Regions from separate parts of the Homo sapiens genome. Here regions 2, 3, 4 and 5 are each linked to region 1. The links are contacts of gene promoters, found by promoter capture Hi-C in human tissues and cell types (Jung and others, 2019). All regions are on one chromosome and are shown on one strand. The core of a region is centred on a gene start or on the middle of the fragment in contact, and the rest is flanking DNA. Distances in the headings are between cores, read along the strand shown.

What was found. The method cuts DNA at HindIII sites, captures the fragments that hold promoters and counts their contacts. A contact is called where the count stands out against the background at its distance.
Region 2: a fragment that was not itself captured here is called in contact with the fragment with the promoter of SST in region 1 in 1 of the 25 tissues and cell types used here (H1 embryonic stem cells).
Region 3: a contact is called between a fragment that was not itself captured here and the fragment with the promoter of SST in region 1, in 1 of the 25 tissues and cell types used here (neural progenitor cells).
Region 4: a contact is called between a fragment that was not itself captured here and the fragment with the promoter of SST in region 1, in 3 of the 25 tissues and cell types used here (heart left ventricle, lymphoblastoid cells and mesendoderm cells).
Region 5: a fragment that was not itself captured here is called in contact with the fragment with the promoter of SST in region 1 in 2 of the 25 tissues and cell types used here (aorta and mesendoderm cells).

Annotation. Positions count from the first base shown.
Region 1 is chr3:187,667,773-187,672,103 of GRCh38, forward strand. SST (somatostatin) reads right to left here and starts at 2,622. Exons shown (of 2, transcript NM_001048.4): 1 at 2,382-2,622; 2 at 1,140-1,505. The coding sequence starts at 2,519. The coding sequence ends at 1,293. The HindIII fragment of the contact is 6,645 bases long and covers 833-4,331 here.
Region 2 is chr3:187,419,716-187,424,046 of GRCh38, forward strand. It overlaps LOC124905594 (small nucleolar RNA U13), which reads left to right and starts at 3,600; the gene lies at 3,600-3,704. The HindIII fragment of the contact is 5,501 bases long and covers 1-4,331 here.
Region 3 is chr3:187,458,557-187,462,887 of GRCh38, forward strand. No RefSeq gene overlaps it. Among named protein-coding and RNA genes, the nearest start is that of LINC02041, 14 kb to the left of the region's middle. The HindIII fragment of the contact is 4,075 bases long and covers 1-3,993 here.
Region 4 is chr3:187,492,673-187,497,003 of GRCh38, forward strand. All of the region lies in intron 1 of LOC124909471 (a long non-coding RNA gene), which reads right to left. Among named protein-coding and RNA genes, the nearest start is that of LINC02041, 48 kb to the left of the region's middle. The HindIII fragment of the contact is 7,793 bases long and covers 1-4,331 here.
Region 5 is chr3:187,509,785-187,514,115 of GRCh38, forward strand. No RefSeq gene overlaps it. Among named protein-coding and RNA genes, the nearest start is that of LINC02041, 65 kb to the left of the region's middle. The HindIII fragment of the contact is 3,081 bases long and covers 473-3,553 here.

The sequences.
Region 1 (4,331 bases), core at 1,372-3,871:
CTTTTTTTCTTTTGTTTGATCAGCTGTTAGAAATTAACTTCCTCTAAGCCAACCACATTCAAATGTGTATTATCTAACACAAATATTTTCTATAAAATATTAAGCTCCTCTTAAATGTTTATATGATACTATCAGTTAGTTTATACTACAAGGATTTATATTGAGCATACATATTTATGTTTGGTTTTTATTCCAGTAGCTATGCAGAAATGCAGTTGATAGCTAAAACACACATCCCCCAAAGGATATCTCTTTAGGTCTCAGGAAGTTAAATTAGCAATGTTTACATTCTGTCTTGAGTGATCCCATTTAGCATGTTGTTATAAGACTATCACCTTTACTGAGTGTTTAAGAATAATTTTTGTGTTTTTATTTGACTCCCATATTGATAGAATTAAGAGAAGACTTGAGATATCTCCTTCAGCTATTTCATAATTATGATTTTGAGCTCCAATACCTGCAATATAGATAGCACTCAGTGAGGTAAGCCAATATGCATTTCTTGCAACCTATAGTACTTCCAGAAGGAATCTTATAATAAAAGTGATATTTCTCCCTGAGAAAAAATATCTTAAAAGCTTGCTTTTAAAACAGTCATTTAGCACTGTTCAATTAGAGAGGATTGTCAAAGAAGACACAAAAGCAATGGTATTTCTCTAGATAAATGTTTACAAACTAGAAACAAATTCAGAACCTCATTTTAGCTATTTAAGTCAGATTTTTTCTCAACCACCAAATGACTTTGTTCCTTCCATCTTTTCATATGTTATGTATTTTACATATCAACCTGGTAGATAGTTGGATTTTTCAGCCTAACTATTCACACACACTCATTTCAATAGTCCAACATATAATTTAGGTGTACTTAATATGTAATTAATGTTTATGTCAGCCTCTCCCAGTAATTATCATTGAATTAAAGTTTGAATGCATAGAGTTATGTGAAATTATTTCTGTTTAAAATGACTCATGTTATAATAGTTATCATTTAAAATGTAAACTTTATTGCCACCGAGAATTTTAAATAGATGTTTGTGAACATTGGAGTACCTATCTCAAATAACTTTACTGAAACCGCCACTCAAGCTTATTATGTATTATTGAACAAAAAGATTTACTCAATAGAAACCAAATTCACATTTTTCATAATTTCACCATAATTTTATTTTGTATTTACAGTTTTCAGTTTCTAATGCAAGGGTCTCGCTGAAGACTTGGAGGATTAGGGAAGAGAGATGGGGTGTGGGGGCGAGGGATCAGAGGTCTGATATGGACAATACTAGTTAAGAAAGCTAACAGGATGTGAAAGTCTTCCAGAAGAAATTCTTGCAGCCAGCTTTGCGTTCTCGGGGTGCCATAGCCGGGTTTGAGTTAGCAGATCTCTGCAGCTCAAGCCTCATTTCATCCTGCTCAGCAGCCTGGGACAGATCTTCAGGTTCCAGGGCATCATTCTCCGTCTGGTTGGGTTCAGACAGCAGCTCTGCCAAGAAGTACTTGGCCAGTTCCTGTATAGGGCAGAAGGGATAGAAAAAGAGAGAAAGAGAAGTGGGGAGGACAATGGAAAAAATTTGAAAAGCCTAAATTAAAGAACAGATTTGGTCACACACAAAATCCAGTTTTTACAGCTGCGCATTTTTTGTCACATTTAAAATCAATCAAGGATATAAAAATAAGGATAGTTGCTATAATTACCAAGTTACACAAAAAGGCTTTAAGAGCTCAAATGTTTCTGCAACCTTTCTGTCCCTGTAGACTTAACACACACACACACACACACACACGCACAAACACACACACACACACACACACACACATAAAGACCGTTCTGGTAAGATAAAGTGTGTGCCAACAGTTTAATTCAATTTTCACATCACGAGCTACAAAGTAGAATTGTTTTACCATTTTTACCAAGTAAACTGTAGGGGAACGAGACTTCTCACAATCTCAAACATACGGCGTTCGGTCTTTAGATTGCCCCTTTGCCCTAGTCCCGACGTTTGGAAGTGAGGTACGCTAAGAGGTAGCAGCTTCAGAGGTCTGCGTTTCAGCACCTGGGTCAGCGCTTCCCAGGGTCAGCACCAGGGATAGACGCCATTGTCGCTTCGTGCCCAGACAACTACCCAGATTTTGTAATTTTCTTGAATGCCAAGTAAGAACTCACCTGAACTGTGACCGACTGCGCTTATCATGGGGGAAAAAAAGAGTTAGAAGGGGATTCTAGCCTTTGATAGTTTTCTCAAGAGCTTCGGGAGCTGAGGGACCCAGAAAAGCACCAAAACTCTTTAGAAGGACTGAGCATCCCTTACGTCCAAACCAATGGGGCAGGAGCAAGGCTTAGGGAGGGCTGGAGAATCCGGGAGACGTCGAGGGAGTCTCCTTACCTGCTTCCCCGCGGCAGCAGCCAGGGACTTCTGCAGAAACTGACGGAGTCTGGGGTCCGAGGGAGCGCCGGTGACACAGCCCAGGGCCAGGACGATGGACAGCGCAGCCAGCGCGCACTGGAGGCGGCAGGACAGCATCTCGGCGCCGCGAAAGCCGAGCTGGAGAGTGGCTGGTCAAACTCTAGGCGCGGATCAGCAGGCAGCAGCGATGGCTCCGAACCTCGCTCCTAAAGCGGCTTGTGTGCTCTCAACCGTCTCCCTCTGTTTTAAACTCTCTCTCTGACGTCAGGCTAGGAGGCGCCCCCAGATCTCACCAGCCCTTTTACGCACCATTAGCCTCGCAAAATCAATCACAGAAGACAGGGGAGGTGACAAGATCTAAAGTGGCTTACTTAAAAAAAAAAAAATACTGCACACGCACAGGCACACACAATTCCACATGCCCCACGATTTATACAATCTTTTATTTTCACTCAGTGCTATGAGCATACACATTCCACAATTTCACTCCCACACATGCACACTCAATTACACACAAACAGAGGCTCAAACACTCAGCTCTTAAAGAGCAAATACACTATCACCCTTAAATGCACACAAATGTACCCAGACAACTCCATCTGTCATCATACTCTAACATTTTAGGAAGGCCCAACAAGCAACAGGGCATGTGTATGGTAGGTGGAGATCAGAATCATTCCTCTAATAACAGATTTGAGAATGAAATATGGACAGTAGAAGGACTGAGCCCTCTTTATTTCCTCCATTATCTCATAAAAAGCCTTGAAGATGTAACGGGGCTCTAAAAGAACTTCACTTTTCTCTACAATGGGGGAGAAGGTACCTCTGGCTCACCCTCCCTCCCTCTTTCTCAGCAACTGAGACTTCTGATCTACCTGCCTTTCTATTGTGACCATATATATGTATGAGTGTGTGTATATGTACGGGAGGGAAAGAGAGAGAGAGAGATTGAAATGGACTTCATTTTGGTGCTGAGAAATTTAGAGCTGGAAGGCAATCTAAGAAATTATTCAATAAACCTCAGAATTTGAATCAGTAAGGCAGAGTAATGGTCAGTAAATTGTTCTCCTTCACATACTGCACACTTTGAGCAAAACCAGACCTCCACATTCCAAAGCCAGTGTTCCTTCTACTGAGCTCTGAGTTTTCTAACAGATTCCTGGCCGGTAAGCATAGTTTTATGTCAGGAAGCCCCAGTTTAGACATATAAGGTCTAGGAACTCCCAGAACATATGTGACCACTATTGTATATCTATATGTGGAAAGGATCAAAAGATTCTTGGTTAAATTCAGCTCTGCCTGATCTCCTAGAAACAAAGAAAGTTTAAGAAAACCTGTCCTTGAATTCTGATTGAACTCTGGTTAAATGTTTACTGTTCAGGCCAGAGTTCTGACTGCTTTTATCTAAATAGTTCCTTACTGAGGAAGGACCAGCTAATTTCCTAGCATGGACGAGATGATCCCTACAGGATCTTTAAGAGCTGTTATCTTATGAGCTTCAAAAAAGCCAATATTAGCTAAAAAGATATGCTGCATCTCTGGAAACCATGCGAAGCTCATATTAGGTATTAAAATATTCTCAGTACTTAGACCCGAACCACAGTGTTGAGAGGCAGAAGGGTTTGGGAAGTATCCTGAATGGCTTGAATAATTGTCACTATTTCTTTTTGTGCTTGTAATCCAAGGCAAAGCGGAAATGCACAGCAAGAAGTGTTAAAGTTTCCAGGTCTTGACAAGGCCAGCCAAGACTAAGCACAAAGTGGGGCATTAAAAAGTCATTCACATGTGTTGGAGTAGTCTAAGAGATCAATGAATCTGGAGCTGTGGAACCCAGTCCTAGGAAATACATGTTATATTCTCTAAATCTTGCAACTCTCTCTGGCCTCTAAGGACTCAGAGTTTAGTTCTATCACTGTGACTGTCTCTAGG
Region 2 (4,331 bases), core at 657-3,156, 250 kb before region 1:
CATGGAAACTAAACAACTTGCTCCTGAATGACTTTTGAATAAACAATGAAATTAAGGCAGAAATTTAAAAAATTGAAACAAACAAGAAGACAGGCACAACATACCAAAACCTCTGGGATACAGCAAAAGCAGTGTAAGAGGAAAGTTTATAACACTAAATTCCTACATTAAAAAGATAGAATAATCCCAAATTAACAACCTAATGTTGCACCTAAAGGAAATAGAAAAGCAAGAATAAACCTAATTCAAAGCTAGCAGAAGAAAAGACACAAGAAAGATTAGAGCCGAACTAAATGAATTTGAGACCAAAAACAAAAAAAAAAACATACAAATTATCAATGAAAAAACCATACAAATGATCAAAGAACCTTTCAAAATTGGTTCTTTGAAAGGATAAACAAAATTAGTAGACTTCCAGCTAGATTAACTAAGAAGGAAAAAGAGAAGATTCAAATAAGCACAATCAGAAATGACAAAGGTGACATTACAACTGATAACACAGAAATACAAAAACCCTCAAAGACTACTATCAACATGTCTATGCACATAAAATAGAAAACCTAGAGGAAATAGAAATAAATTCCCGAAGACACAACCTCCCAAGATTGAACCACCAATAAATTGAAATCCTGAACAGACCAATATCAAGTTATGAAAGTAAATCAGCAATAAAAAGTCTACCATCAAAAAAAAACCCTGGACCAAATAGATACACCACCAAATTCTACCAGACATTCAAAGAACAGCTGGTACCAATCTTATTGAAACTACTCCAAAAAATTGAAGGGGAGGGATTCTTCCCTAACTCATTTTATTAAACCAATATTATCCTGATATCAAAATCTGGCAAAGACACAACCAAAAAAGAAAACTACAGGCCCATATCCCTGATGAACATAGGCATACAAATGCTCAAAACAATACTAGCAAACTGAATCCAATAGCACATCAAAAAGATAAATTATCACACTCAAGTGTTTTTTATTCATGGGACTCAAGAATGGTTCAACATATGCAAATCAATAAATGTGACTCACCACATAAACAGAATTAAAATAAAAAACTATATGATCTCAACGGGCCCAGAAAAAAGAAAAGCATCCAATAAAATCCAACATCCCTTCATGATAAAAATCCTCAGCAAACTAGGCATTGAAGGAACATAACTCAAAATAATAAGAGCCATATATGACAGACCCACAGCCAACATCATACTGAACAGGTGAAAGTTAAAAGCATTCCCCCTAAGAATTACAACAAGATAAGGTTACCTACTCTCACAACTCGTATTCAACATAGTACTAGAAGTCCTAGCCAGACCAATTAGACAAAAGAAAAAAATAAAAGGCAACAAAATATGAAAAGAGGAAGACAAATCTTCTCTGTTTGCTGATGACAAGATCCTATACCTAGAAAGCCCTAATTTTCTCCAAAAGAATCCTAGACCTGATAAATGAATTCAGTGGTTTTAAGATACAAAATCAACCTACAAAACAAGTAGCATTTCTATACACCAATAGCATTTAAACTAAGAAACAAATTAAGATATCAATCCCATTTACAATAGATACACACACACACACACACACACACACACGCACACACACAAAATACCTAGGAATACATTTAACCAAGGAGGTAAAAGATCTCTACAAGGAGAACTACAAAACACTGCTGAAAGAAATCAGAAACAACATAAACAAATGGAAAAACATTCCATGCTTATGGAGTGGAAGAATCAATGTCATTAAAATGCCATACTTGCCAAAGTAAATTACAGATTTAAAGCAATTTCTATCAAATTGCCAATGTTGTTTTTCACAGAACTAGAAAAAAACTGGTCTAAAATTTGTATGGAACCAAAAAGAACCCAAATAGCCAAAGCAATCCTAAGCAAAAAGAATAAAGCCAGAAGCATAACATTACCAGACTTCAAACTATATTAGAAGGCTAGAGTAATCCAAACAGCATGGTACTGGTACAAAAATAGACACATAGACCAATAGAACAGAATAGATAACTCAGAAATAAAGCCATACACCTACAATCAACTGATCTGCAATAAAGTTGGCAAAAATAAACAATGGAGAAAGAACATCTGTCTTAGGCTGTTCTTGCATTGTCATAAACAAATACCTGAGTCAGGGTAATTTATAAGGAAACAAGGTTTAATTGGCTCATAGCTCTGCAAGCTGTACAGGAAGCATGGTGTCAGCATCTGCTCAGCTTCTGCAGTGGCCTCAGGAAGCTTACAATCATGGTGGAAGGTGAAGGGGGAGCAGGCATCTCATATGGTAGGAGTAGGAGCAAGAGAGAAGGGAAGAGGTACCACACACTTTAAACAACCAGATCATTTGAGAACTCACTATAGTAAGGACAGCAGCAAGCCATGAGGGATCCGCCCCCATGACCCAAACACCTCTCACCAGGCCCCAATTCCAATCCTGGGGATTATGTTTCTTTCTTTTGTTTGTTTTGAGATGGAGCCTCGCTCTTTCGCCCATGCTGGAGTGCAATGGCAGGATCTTGACTCACTGCAACCCCTGCCTCCCAGGTTCAAGCAATTCTCCTGCCTCAGCCTCCTGAGTAGCTGGGACTACAGGCACACACCACTCCACCTGGATAATTTTTTTTGTATTTTTAGTAGAGGCAGAGTTTCAATATGTTTGCCAAGCCTAGAACTCCTGACCTCAGATGATCCACCTGCCTTGGCCTCCCAAAGTGCTGAGATTACAGGCATGAGCCACCATGCCTGGCTAGGATTACATTTCAACATGATATTTTGGCAAAGACAAATATCAAGCTATATCAACACCCTATTCAGTAAATGGTTCTTGGAAAATTGCCTAGCCATATTTAGAAGAATAAAACTGTACCCCTACTTCTCACCATATGCAAAAATTAACTCAAGATGGATTAAAGACTTAAATGTAAGACCTCAACCTATAAAAATGCTAGAATAAAATCTAGGAAATACTCTTCTGGACATTGGCCTAGCCAAAGAATTTATGGCTAAGACATTAAAAGCAAATGCAACAAAAACAAAAATAGACAAATGGGATTTAATTAAACTAAAGAGCTTCTGCCCAGCAAAAGAAACAACCAACAGAGTAAACAGGCAACCTACAACATGGGAGAAAATATTTGCAAACTATGCATCCAAAGAAGGTCTAATATCCACAATCTATAAGAAATTTTAGTAAGTCAGCAAGAAATAAACATTAAAATTGGGCAAAGGACATGAACAGACACTTCTTAAAAAAACATACAAGCAGCCAACAAATATATGGAAAAAATGTTAACATCACTGATCATCAGAGAAATGCAAATTAAAACCACAAGGAGATACCATCTCACACCAGTTAGAAGGGCTATTATTAAAAAGTCAAAAAATAACAGATGTTAGTAAGGATGCAGAGAAAAAGGAACACTTATACACTGTTGGTGGGAATGTAAATTAGTTCCACCCCTATGGAAAACAATATGAAGATTTCTCAAAGAACTAAAAATAGATCAATCTACTATACGACCCAGCAATTCCCATTATTGGGTATCTACCTAAAGGAAAAGAAATGATTCTTTCAAAAAGATACCTGCAGATCCTTTTGCAGTTCATGAACATGATGATTGGGTGTTCATGCTCATGTGTGAGATGTGCCACCCTCTGAATCTTGTTATGACATCAGCACATTATCCATCTGACCTGAAAAGGAAAAAAAAAGGCACTTGCACTCGTATATTTATCACAGCACTATTCACAATAACAAAGGCATGGAATCAACTTATGTGTCCATCAATGGTGTATTGGATAAAGAAAATGTGATACGTGTACACCATAGAATACTACATAGCCATAAAAATGAATAAAATCACATCCTTTGCAGCAACATGAATGGAGCTGGAGACAATAATCCTAAGTGAATTAATGCAGAAACAGAAAATCAAATACTGCATATTCTTACTTACAAGTGAGAACTAAAGAATAGGTTCTCATGAAAATAAAGATAGAAGCAATAGAAACTGGAGACTCCAAAAGGGGAGAGGGAGTGAGGGAGCAAGAGTTGGAAAAACTACTTACTGGATACTATGTTCACTATTTCAGTGATAGGTTCACTAGAAGCCCAAACCCAGCATTATGCAATATGCCCATGTAACGAATCTGCACATTACCCCCGGAATCTATGATATAGATAATCTATTATATATATAAAATAGATACATATATAATCTATTATATGTCTATATTCTATATATATATTATAGTTATATACCTATTATATATTTGTATATATAATAGATGTTTATATTCTGTATATATTTAAAAATTTATG
Region 3 (4,331 bases), core at 706-3,205, 210 kb before region 1:
CCTTAGAGAGGGCTTTAGACTATCACAGGTTGTGGAATGTGTGTTAAGGCCAGATTTGGCCACACCTATAATGAGCAGAGAGGCTGCATCCATTATCGGAATTCTTTTTAAGCAGTCTCTATGCCCACTGAACTGTGGGTTTTCCGATGGAAGGGCCTATCTCCATGCATCCCAGTTTTCTGGGCACAAGTCTTGGCACATGGGATGCTCTAAATAAATCTTTGGAGAATGAATAACATAAAAAGCATATAATATAGGCTTTTTTTCCTAAGGTTCAAGGAAGCATGAAGGAGTCCTTATTGTCTGTGGCTATTCTATGGCTCAGACTAAATTCTCCCTTATTCCCTACTTAGATGCTATTGAACTTGTTTCTCCAAACTCTGTTATTCAAAATTTGATTAATTTGAGCTCAAAATGACATTTCAAAATCCCCTATTCCCAAACACATAGCTCATCAAAAACACCTCCCACTATTTACAATTCCACTTCATTGAAATATGATGATGCCAGGCAGACAGCAGTGTGTATTCAGTGGAATTCAATTTTCCTGATCACTGGCTCCATCGATCAGTCTGTTTGCAAAGGGCTGATGCAAGCATTCATCCACTTCATACAGACGGTGGGTGAGCCACTCTCCTATTATTTCTGCAAGTGAAAAAGGTTGTTAAACTATAATGATGGTATTCTGAAGGATCACTTTACTATTGTTGTTTTAAGCTTTATTGAGATTCTATCAAGGGCCAGGAGTTTTTCCTATGTGTTCATATTTAATCTTTACAACTGACAATTTAGCGGGGAAGAATCTGAGACTTAGAGAACTTAGGTGAATTGTCCACAGTTACAGAGCTGGCAATGTGTGGAGCCGGAATTCAAACACAGTTCTTGTGATTTCAGAATTGAATATTATCCATTATACTTGGTTCTCCCCTTGGCAGTTGTCTTGGGGCTGAGGCAGGGAAGGTAGAAAGAAGTGACTGAGAAAGGAATCCCAAGACAATCTGATAGAGAAGAAAAATTACAGTGGCTTATTATTCAACATATTCACCACCTGTCACTCTCTCCTGGGATCCCCACTGTGGCTGAATAAGCACTTGTTACTGCAGCCAGAAGGCTACACTTGGCCACAGGCCTGTCTCTTCCCATGTATTGTGAGTTCCTTGAGACAGTGCACACCAAACACAAACACACACACTCAGGGCAGTGCCCAGGCCCAGAGGAGCTGGTAGCATGATGAGCAAATGTGGTGTCAGAGAAGAGGTGTCTTCAGGGAAGGAATCTCTGTGACTCTTGCAGGCAAGCAGCGTCTTCACCAGAGGTAATGGTCTGGGCATCTGCCTTAGACAGAAGACAGAAAGGCCTGGGAGAGACACATCCAGAATTCCAATCTACCTGGTAGTGTTGCCAACACAAATCTCCTTGAGGATAAAACCTTTTCTAACCCAGGCAGAGCCAGGAAAGTGCTCTGCAGGACCCATCTCAGCCGCATCACAGTTCAGGAAGCATGACTACTGTATCTTCAAAACTTCACTAAATGTTCCTTGTTGTTCATTGTTATGTCAATAGACACCTTCTACATTGTAGCTACCCCCAATGCATGAAATGCATGGAAAAAATCTAAAAGAGAATTATATTTTTGATCCATAGGTAAAATTGGAGAAAAATTGGGAGCATGCTTCTCTCTCTCTCTCTCTTTTTTTTTGTGATGGAGTCTCGCTCTGTCACCCAGTCTGGAGTGCAGCGGTGTGATCTTGGCTCACCACAACCTCCACCTCCCAGATTCAAGTGATTCTCCTGCCTCAGCTTCCCAAGTAGCTGGGACTACAGGTGTGTGCCACCACACCCAGCTAATTTTTTTTTTTTTTTTTTTGTAGTAGAGACGGGGTTTCGCCACATTGACCAGGCTGGTCTCAAACTCCTGACTTTAGACGATCCGCCCACCTTGGCCTCCCAAAGTGCTGGGATTACAGGCATGAACCACCATGCCCGGCACTTCTCTCTTTTTAGGCAATAATTCTAGCTGTTCTGAAGACCAAAACTGGTCAATACTTGTCCTCAGTTTCTCTGAAAACTGAATCATGCATCATGAGAATTCCCTTCTCTAGTAGGAGAGCTCTTCAAAGCAATCATTTTCTTTATTAGCAAGTGTGGGTGTCTTCATAAACTTCTGGATTTGTTTCCAGGGTCTGGTTAACAAAGGATAGGATCTCATATGGCACTCATAGCAAATCTGAAATAGGTGGGGCTGACACTATCTGTTGTTTCTATTTTGCAGATACTCATGAAACTGAGGCTCAGAGAGTGTGCATGACTTACGCAAGCTCACACAGCTAAGTAACAATTATACTTGGATGAGATCTGGGTGTTCTGTTGTCCAGTCCAATATCACGTTGTACATTAAGACTTGAGTCATGCCAGTATCCCTATGATCATAGTCACACTTTTATCATCTAACCTCGAATCCTTAAACCTTAATATTCATTTCTCTTAGAAAAATAAAACATGGTAGAACTCAACTTCTGTACTGAATACAATCTGACACCACTCTGAATAGAGAAGCTCCAGGAAGCCATTCTGGTGGGTGGCGAAAGGTCACAGGAGGTGCAGTGTTTGAAAAAGCAATACAGATTTCAACAATCAGGTTATTAAGCAAAAATTCTTAGATAAGCTTTCTAATCCTATCAAGGGCTTACTCCTATTCCCCACTCAGCTGGCAAAGTTCAATTACATTGTAGGTCAAAATTAACACTGCAGGGGAAAGATTTTATTGTTTTGCTCTCATTCAGGCTAAGTATTTGACTCCTTGTGGATAGTAAGCATCAGTGTTTCAAAAGTGTGTGTGTGTAAGAGAGAGAGAGATGGAGAGAGAGAGAATATCTGTACTGTTTTCAAGTCCTGGCTATTATATAGTAAATTTTAAATGTCTTAAACTTGGTTAATCACTCTGATTGATATTTTGTGTTCCAGTTGTCAAAAAGAAAGAAAGAAAAAACAAAAACAAAGAAAAGGGGAGCAAAAATGGAAATATTTGAAAAAAGAGGGGCATATGAACATAGATACATGTATTATCTTTACAATGTTTATAGTATAGTTAATAAAGGAATTTTACCCACCTACATTGCTAATTTATTCCTGAACACTACTCCATGTACAAAGTAGGCAGGGTAAGTACACATATCAGCATTTTTTTAAAGATAAACAGAAACGCAGAATCAGATCTAGAGTCCTGTTTGGGAGCCTCTAGTTCATGTCATTTTTGCATGAATATTAGCCTTCCCTTACATAGTGTTCGCCAGTATAAGACGCCATTAAAAATGCTTTATGTTGACTCACGTAATATATAGCTGTACCTACTCTGATTCAAAACACAACTGAACTTTATCAGTTTTATACAAACCATGTATTTAGTTTTATACAAACTGAAATAATCCATGGTAGGGAAGGAGTGTTAATTTAGGGGGAAAAAAGTGAACCATTGGCTATGGCTATATAAATAATACAATTTTCAATGGTTGTGCTGAATTTGCACAACACTGAACACTTTTAAAAAAACTTTCTCACATGCAGTACCTTTCATTCTCACTGGAGTCCCATGAGGTGTCACTTTCCCCATTAGACATGGGGTAGCAGGAGCTGAGGCTCTGTGTTCTGGAACTAAGTCAAATTAGTGACCCATGCCCAGTTCTGCAGGTGGGTGGCAGATCTTGTGGGTGGTAGATGTTGGGGAAAATGGGAAAAGTAAGGACTGGAAAGTGGAGTGGCATGGAGAGGGAACCCTAGTGGGGCAGAAGGCTCAGATGACAAAGTCCTTTGAAGTGAGGTGAAGACTTGTCTGAGTAGTGGTGGGATTCATCCTTTTGCTTTGTGCTTTAGCCTTTAATGACATCCATCTCCCTCATCTTCCAGATTTATGCTCTTTCATTATGAACCCATTATGTGCTCAAGAGACTGTGCACTGCAGATATTCTCCTCGCAGAGCCCTTGTAATTCTGCCTGCACCCATGTTCAGAATCCAATTGAGAAAAGAAGGCCAGTGGGGTGGGAGCTGGGGGACCAGCAGCCATTGTCTCCTGTGGCAGCCTGATGGGATAGATTTTTCACAGGGATGCACAGGCTGAAACGTGTGTGTCCACTGAATTCATGGTGACAGCTCTGCTACCTCCATGACTGAGCACTGGGGTCATCCACCCAATTCAGTCCCTTAGTTGCCAGTGTCTTGGGGCAAGGTGAAGTCACAGAGTGTGGGCCAGGACTTAGGTTTCCAACTATCACTCAGCAAATATACCCAGCCTTATCATTTAATTTTTCACTCTAACAATTACTTATCAAGCACT
Region 4 (4,331 bases), core at 538-3,037, 180 kb before region 1:
GGAAAAAATAAATAAACAAATAAATTGTACACCACTAGGGAACGAGATAAGTTTCAAGAGATCCCTGCCATTTCAACTTGAGAGGAGACGTCGAACTCACCCACACACCAAGAATATAACTACTACAACCAACATTGGGGAAAACCAGCACACAAAGACTCTCTATAACTAAGGAACTCATACAGAGTCTTTACCCCTACAAGCACCAAGAATCAAATTAGACTATAATAAACATTGAAGTCTGATTCTTAAGAGGAAAACACAAAAAAGAAAAGAAAATTAAATCTACAAAACACAGTCCAATCAAAAAAGAATTCAAGAACAATTTGAAGAAATTGTCTACACAAATGAGAAGGAACCAGAAAAGTAGTTCTGGTAACATGAAAAACATAGTTCTATAACACCCCCAAAAGATCACACTAGCTCTCTAGCAATGGATTTAAACCAGGAAGAAACCTCTGAATTGCCATATAAAGAATTCAGAAGGTTAAATATTAAGCTACTCAACGAGATATCAGAGAAAGGTGAAAACCAACTTAAAGAAATTAAAAAAAATACAGGATACGGATGCATAATATTGAAGAAAAATAGATATCATTAGAAAAACAATCACAACTTCTGGAAATGAAAGAAACATTTAGGGAAATACAAAATGCAATGGAAAATTTCAACAATAGGCTAGAACAAGTCGAAGAAAGAGCTTCAGAGCTCAGAGACAAGCCTTTCAAATTAACCCAATTAGACAGAGACAAACAAAAAAGAATAATAAAAAAGTAAACAAAGCTCTCAAGAAAGCTGGGATTATGTTAAATGACCAAACGTAAGAATAATTGGTGTTCCTGAGGAAGAAGAGACATCTAAAACTTTAGAAAACTTATTTGAGGGAATAATTGAGGACGACTTCCCTGGCCTTTGTCTTTTTCAGGCAAACAAATGCTGAGAGAATTCTCCACTACCAAGTTTTTCAGACAAATGATGCTGAGATAATAGTGGGGGACTTCAATACACCACTGACAGCACTAGTCAGGTCATCAAGACAGAAAGTCAACAAAACTACTATTAACACTTTTATGCACACAAACTAAAAAAATGGAGAGATGGATAAATTCTTGGAAACATACAACCCTCCTATATTAAATCAGGAAGAAATAGAAACTCTGAACAGACCAATAACAATTAGCAAGATTGAGACAGTAATAAAAAAAATCGCCAACAACAAAAAAAATCCAGGACCAGATGGATTCACAGCTGCATTCTAGTAGATATTCAAAGAATTGGTACCAATCCTACTGAAACAATTCCAAAAGATAGAGAAAGACAGAATCCTTCGAAATCATTCTGTGAAGCCAGTATCACATTAATACCAAAATCAGAAAAGGATATAACAAAAAGAGAAAACTATAGACCAACATCCCTGATGAACATAGATGCAAAAATCAAATAAATACTAGCTAACCAAATCCAACAGCATATCAAAAAGATAATCCACCATGAACAAATGGCTTTCATACAAAGGATGCACGGATGGTTTAACATACGCAAGTTGATGCATGTGATACACCACATAAGCAGAATTAAAAACAAAAACCACGTGATCATCTCAACAGACACAGAAAAAGCATTTGACAAAATCCAGCATCCCTATATGATTAAAACCCTCAGCAAAATTGGCATAGAAGGGACATAGCTTAAGGTAATAAAAGACATATATTACAAGCCCACAGCCAACATTATACTGAATGGGAAAAAGTTGAAAGCATTCCACCTGAGAAGTAGAACAAGACAAGGATGCCCACTTTCATTACTTCTATTCAACGTAGTCCTGGAAATTCTAGCCAGAGCAATCAGGCAGAAGAAAGAAATGAAGGGCATCCAAGTCGATAAAGAGGAAGTCAAACTGTCGCTGTTCATTGATGATATGATTGTATACCTAGAAAACCCTAAAGACTCATCTGAAAAGCTTCTAGATCTGATAAATGAATTCAATAATGTTTCAGAACACAAAGTCAATGTACAAAAATCAGTAGCACTGCTACATACCAACAATGACCAGGCTGAGAATCAAATCAAGAACTTAACCCCCTTTACAATTGCTGCAAAAAACAAAACAAACAAACAAACAAAAACTTAGGAATATACCTAACCAAGGAGATAAAAGACATCTACAAGGAAAACTACAAAAAGCTGCTGAAAGCAATCATAGATGACGTGAACAAATGGAAACACATCCCATGCTCATGGATTGATAGAATCAATATTGTGAAAATGACCATACTGCCAAAATAAATCTACAAATTCAATGCAATTCCCATCAAAATACTATCATCATTCTTTGCAGAACTAAAAAAAAAATTCTAAAATTTATATGGAACCCCCCCCACCAAAAAAAAGCCTGCATAGCCAAAGCAAGACTAAGCAAAAAGAGCAAATTGGGAGGCATCACATTACCTGACTTCAAACTATACTACGAGACTATCCTTACCTAAACAGCATGGTTCTGGTATAAAAATAAGCATGCAGACCAATGGAACAGAATAGAGAACCCAGAAATAAAGCCAAAGATTTATACCCAACTTGATCATTGACAAAGCATTCAAAAACATGAAGTAGGGAAAGAACACCTACTCATTATCAGGGAAATACAAATTAAAACCACAATTCAGTATACCACCTAACTCCTGCAAGAATGGCCATAATTTAAAAAATCAAAAAATAATAATTGTTGGCATCGATGTGGTGAAAAGAGAACACCTTTACACTGCTGGTGGGAATGTAAACTAGTACAACCACTGTAGAAAACAGTATGGAGATTCCTTAAAGGACTGAAAGTACTTCTACCATTCGACTCAGCAATCTCACTGCTGGTTATCTACCCAAAGGAAAAGAAGTCATTATATGAAAAAGACACTTGCACACACAAGTTTATAGCAGCACAATTCACAAGTGATAAAATATGGAACCAACCTAAATGCCCATCAACTAACAAGTGAATAAAGAAAATGTCGTATATGTACATCATGCAATACTATAAAAGGAACAAAATAATGGCTTTTGTAGCAACTTCGATGAAGTTAGAGACCACTTTCTAAGCTAAGTAACTCAGGAGTGGAAAACCAAATATCGTATGTTCCCACTTATAAGTGGGAGTTAAGCTATGAGGATGCAAAGGCATAAGAATGGTATAATGGACTTTGAGGACTCGAGGGGAAGGATGGGAGGGTAGAGATAAAATATTACACATTGGGTACAGTGTGTACTGCTCGGGTCATGGGTGCACCGAAAACTCAGAAATCACCAGTAAAGAACTTATTCATGTAACCAAAAACCACCTGTTTCCCCAAAACCTACTGAAATAAAAAAATAAAATAATATCTAAGTTGCAGATTTGGGAGAAAATATTTGCATAATATATATCTAACAAAGGACTTTTATCCAGAATAAAGAATTGTTACAACTGTAAAATGAGAAGACAAGGAACATAATTTGTTTAAATGGGCAAATGATTTCAACTGGCACTTTACCAAAGAAGACACATAGATGGCATACAAAAAAAAGCTGAACATTATGAGTTATTAGTGAAATGCAAATTGAACCGAAATGGGATACAACTACACTTTGACTAGAATGGCCAAAATTTAAAAATATGATGAAACAAAATGATAATTCCAAATGTTAACATGATGTGGAGAAATTAGAACTCTCAAATACTACTGGTTTGAATATATAAAGTGGTACAACGATTTTGGAAAACAGTTTGGCACTTTCTTAAAAAGTTGAACATTCTTTTACCATACAATCCAGCTATTCCATTCCTAAGTAAATATTTTTCCAAGAGCTATGAAAACATACATTCATAGAAAAGGTGCACTTAAATAATTATGGCAGCACTATTTTTATCAGCCAAAAATTGAAGTCCACTGAATGTCTATCAATGGCTTAATGTAAACAAATTGTGGTAAATCCATAAAATGGAACAGTATTTGGCAACAAGATTATTGATTGATGGATAAAGTTGAAAGTAATTATACTAAGTCCAAGAAGCCAGACAAAAAGTACAATTATATGATTCCATTGTATAAAATTCTAGACAATGAAAACTAATCTACAGTGACAGAAAGCAATTCAATGTTTTCCTGGTGAAAGAGAGATAAATATTTTACCAAATGGCATGAGAAGACTTTCTGGGTTAATGGAAATCTTTTTCATCTTAATTGTGGCATGGTTACAGGGTCTATACATATTACAACATTTGTCCAATTTTGTACAGTAAATATATACAGTTTATCATACATATTTATCCCTTAATAAAATTGTAAATGCCTTTATAAAAC
Region 5 (4,331 bases), core at 763-3,262, 160 kb before region 1:
AGATTGTCTACAGGTGCAAATCTCCACCACAGAAGACAGCTTTGCAGGGCTACTGCTGTTTGCTGGCCCTCTGAAGGGTCATCTCAAAATATGTCAAAGAAGTATGTTTGGGGGTGAAATATTTTTATTTCATCCACACATGTATTTCAAATCTTTATTTTAGGTTTTGCTGATTGGCAATTTTGATAAATTTATATCTCATCATTTTCTGGAACACTCTGCTTTATGTTTTATTTTCTTGAACCAAAATATTTGGTTGAAGCGTCAGTGTTTCATAAATTGATTCTCAAGTGCCATATAGCATGCGTATGTGCACACTCACTCTTTGGTTGTTTGATAGAATTCAATTTTAAAAAGAAGCTAAATTCAAAAAATCGGTTTTTAGTGTTAGCCTGGGCATAAAGGACTCTGTCAATAATTAAAATCCATTTTTAAAAAGCCTCAACCAAAAAAAAACTTTTATGTAATTATGTTTTAAGTATCAGTAGTGTATTGATTATGGTAATTTAAAAAACCTATGGTTATTAATCATTATGACAGAGTTATTTTGCTTTTTAAAAAAACTTTATTGACTTAACAGGAAGAGGCTGAGATACAAAATATAATTTAAAGAGTTTCACTTTGGGAGGCCGAGGAGGGCAGATCACAAGGTCAGGAGTTCAAAACCAGCCTGGCCAACATGGTGAAACCCCGGCTCTACTAAAAATACAAAACTTAGCTGGGCATGGTGGCACATGCCTGTAATTCCAGCTACTTAGGAGGCTGAGGCAGAAGAATTGCTTGAACGGACACCTGGGAGGTGAAGGTTACAGTGAACCAAGATCGCACCACTGCACTCCAGCTCCAGCCTGGGCTACAGAGTGAGACTCCATATCAAAAAAAAAAAAAAAAAAAAAAAAAGTTAAAGAGTGTACTTGAGCCAAAATAAGGACAGCTGCCCTGACGACTCAGATCTAAATAACCTTGGATGTGAAGAATGTTTTGCCTTTGTAACAAGTGGGTTTTAAAAGGGAAAAATGGAGTGGGTTGATACAAAGTTATTTGTCAGGAATTCTCATTGGTTTACAGAAATAACAATGATTAGTGATCGGCTATATACATTGTTAAGCTACAAGGTTATAGTGGATTAGTGTCTGTGTGGCATTATTAGGTTAATTTATATTCATGGCAATAGCAAGCAGTCAAGAGATGAATATGTAGCTCAAGTGGGAGGCAGGATGTGATTGTTTTAATGACTCTCTGGGCCTGATCATTTAAAAGCTTTGCATTCCTTGGATAAAATTTCTTTTCTTTTCTCAGTTTGGGCTTGGGATATCCCAAGATGGTTCAGATGATCTCAAAGGACATAAATGTAACTTAATTTTAAGTAATTTTCATAGAAATTATAATATATAGAATTAATTTAGAAAAGATAGGATTCATAAGTCTGGTTATAATAAAAATGTAATTATTAAAAACTCCATTAAGGCAGACACCAAGCCTTTTTTTTTTTTTTTTACCACTTTCATAGTAACCAGCACATAGTAGATATTCAACAATTTTTTTTTGAATGAAAATAAAGATAATGTGAATGCAGGTTGATAACTGAATGGTTAAAAAGCCAGAAATAAAAAGCCTGCATCTAATGTGAAGAAAAAGGCACTCATAGTCATCATTTTATTTCACTCCATCAACCTCTATTGAGTGCGTACTATGTGCCAAAAATTGTTCTAGATGTTGTGTGATATATTTGTGAATAACAGGCTTGATTCTTAGCAGCGTAGACCTTACTGTCTGTTTAGGGGGATACAACTTGGAAATAGAAGGTTGATCAGGAGTATCCAAGCTCCTAAACAGTGTGATAAGGAATGGGGAACTCAGCTCATCTTTTTCTGTAGACATTTTAAAATGGAGCTTTGATTTTACCAAAAATTTGACCACTTATGATCATTCTTTAATATTCACAGTTGACACAATATCCATCATCCTATTTGAAGCAGAAAGACCAAGTATTATCATTAATTTACAAACAAGAAAAATGAAGTCCACAGTGGGTAAATTATACAATTAGAACACAGGTTTCCTGAATCCAAGTTATTGGAGATAAAGGAGATTTAGCCTTCTTTTTATTGGGTTTTGGTGTTCATTTTTAGCAAATACTTGAATAAAAAGAATAATCACAATCTCCTTTTTGGTCATGTTCAAAATATCAAACTATGTGTTTTTAGCAAATACTAGTTCTGGGTGAACGTTCGAAATTTTCACTTTTTGTTTAAGCATTCGTTATTAGCTCTAGAGATACAATCAGAAGGTCCTCAGTTATAGGAGCAGGAGTCCTTGGAAACAACGCTGGTTGGACATTATATTAGTCGACTGCAAACATCGTGAAGCTAAACTTTTTATTATTTATCTCATGTTCCTAGTGTCCTGCACTTAGTCCTCACAGATGAAAACGGGGTCAGCAATAAGAGCTGTCAGTCCTCCATGCCTTTCTGACTGCCACTCCCTTAGCCCAAGCCCTTGTGACCTTGCAGCTTAAATTATTTTCCAAAAGCAATTCTGTCATTCTTTGGCTCAGAAACTTAGTTCAGACTGCTATAGCAAAACCACCATAGACTGGGTGACTTGAACAGCAAACATTTATTTCTCAGGTTTGAAGCCTGGGAAGTCCAATATCAAGGTGCTGGCAGATCTGGTGTCTGGTGAGGGCACTCTTCCTAGTTTGTAGATAGCCATCTCTCATTGTATCCTCAGGTGGCAGAGGGCAGAGAGGGAAAGAGGAGGCACTCATGTGTCTTCTTATGAGGGCACTAATCCAATTCAAGAGGGCCCCACACTCATTATCTAATTTCTTCCCAAAGGCCCCACCTCTTAATATCACAACACTAGAGGTTAGGATTTCAACATGTGAATTTTGAAGGGACATGTATTAGGGTTCTCTAGAGGAACAGAACTAATGGGGGAGGTTCCAAGATGGCCGAATAGGAACAGCTCCAGTCTACAGCTCCCAGGGTGAGCAATGCAGAAGACAGGTGATTTCTGTATTTCCAACTGAGGTACCAGATTCATCTCACTGGGGCTTGTTGGACAGTGGATGCAGCACACTGAGCAGGGCTGGGCGTCACCTCACCTGGGAAGTGCAAGGGGTTGGGGGAATTCCCTTTCCTAGCCAAGGGAAACCATGACAGATTGTACCTGGAAAATAGGGACACTCCCACCCTAATACTGTGCTTTTCCAATGGGCTTAGCAAATGGCACACCAGGAGATTATATCCTGCGCCTGGCTCAGAGGGTCCCACACCCACAGATCCTCACTCACTGCTAGCACAGCAGTCTGAGATCGAACTGCAAGGCAGCAGCGAGGCTGGGGGAGGGGCGTCCGCCATTGCTGAGGCTTGAGTAGGTAAACAAAGTGGCTGGGAAGCTTGAACTGGGTGGAGCCCACTGCAGCTCAAGGAGGCCTGACTGCCTGCCTCTGTAGACTCCCCCTCTGGGGGCAGGGCATAGCCAAACAAAAGGCAGCAGAAACTCCTGCAGACTTAAATGTCCCTGTCTGACAGCTTTGAAAAGAGTAGTGGTTCTCCCAGCATGGAGTTTGAGAGCTGAGAACGGACAGACTGCCTCCTCAAGTGGGTCCGTGACCCCTGAGTAGCCTAACTGGGAGACACCTCCCAGTAGGGGCCGACTGACACCTCATACAGCCGGGTGCCCCTCTGAGAGGAAGCTTCCAAAGGAAGGATCAGGCAGCAACATCTGCCATTCTGCAATATTTCCTGTTCTGCAGCCTCCGCTGGTGATACCCAGGCAAACAGGGTCTGGAGTGGACCTCTAGCAAACTCCAACAGACCTGCAGCTGAGGGTCCTGACTGTTAGAAGGAAAACTAACAAACCGAAAGGACATCCACACCAAAACCCCATCTGTATGTCACCATCATCAAAAACCAAAGGTAGATAAAAACACAAAGATGGGGAGAAACCAGAGCAGAAAAGTTGAAAATTCTAAAAATCAGAGCACCTCTTCTCCTCCAAAGGAACACAGCTCCTTGCCAGCAATGGAACAAAGCTGGATGGAGAATGACTTTGATGAGTTGAGAGAAGAAGGCTTCAGATGATCAGTAATAACAAACTTCTCCGAGCTCAAGGAGGATGTTCGAACCCATCGCAAAGAAGCTAAAAACCTAGAAAAAAGATTAGACGAATGGCTAACTAGAATAAGCAGTGTAGGGAAGTCCTTAAATGACCTGACGGAGCTGAAAACCATGGCACGAGAACTACGTGACACATGCACAAGCTGCAGTAGCTGATTTGATCAAGTGGAAGAAAGGGTATCAGTGATTGAAGATCAAATGAAT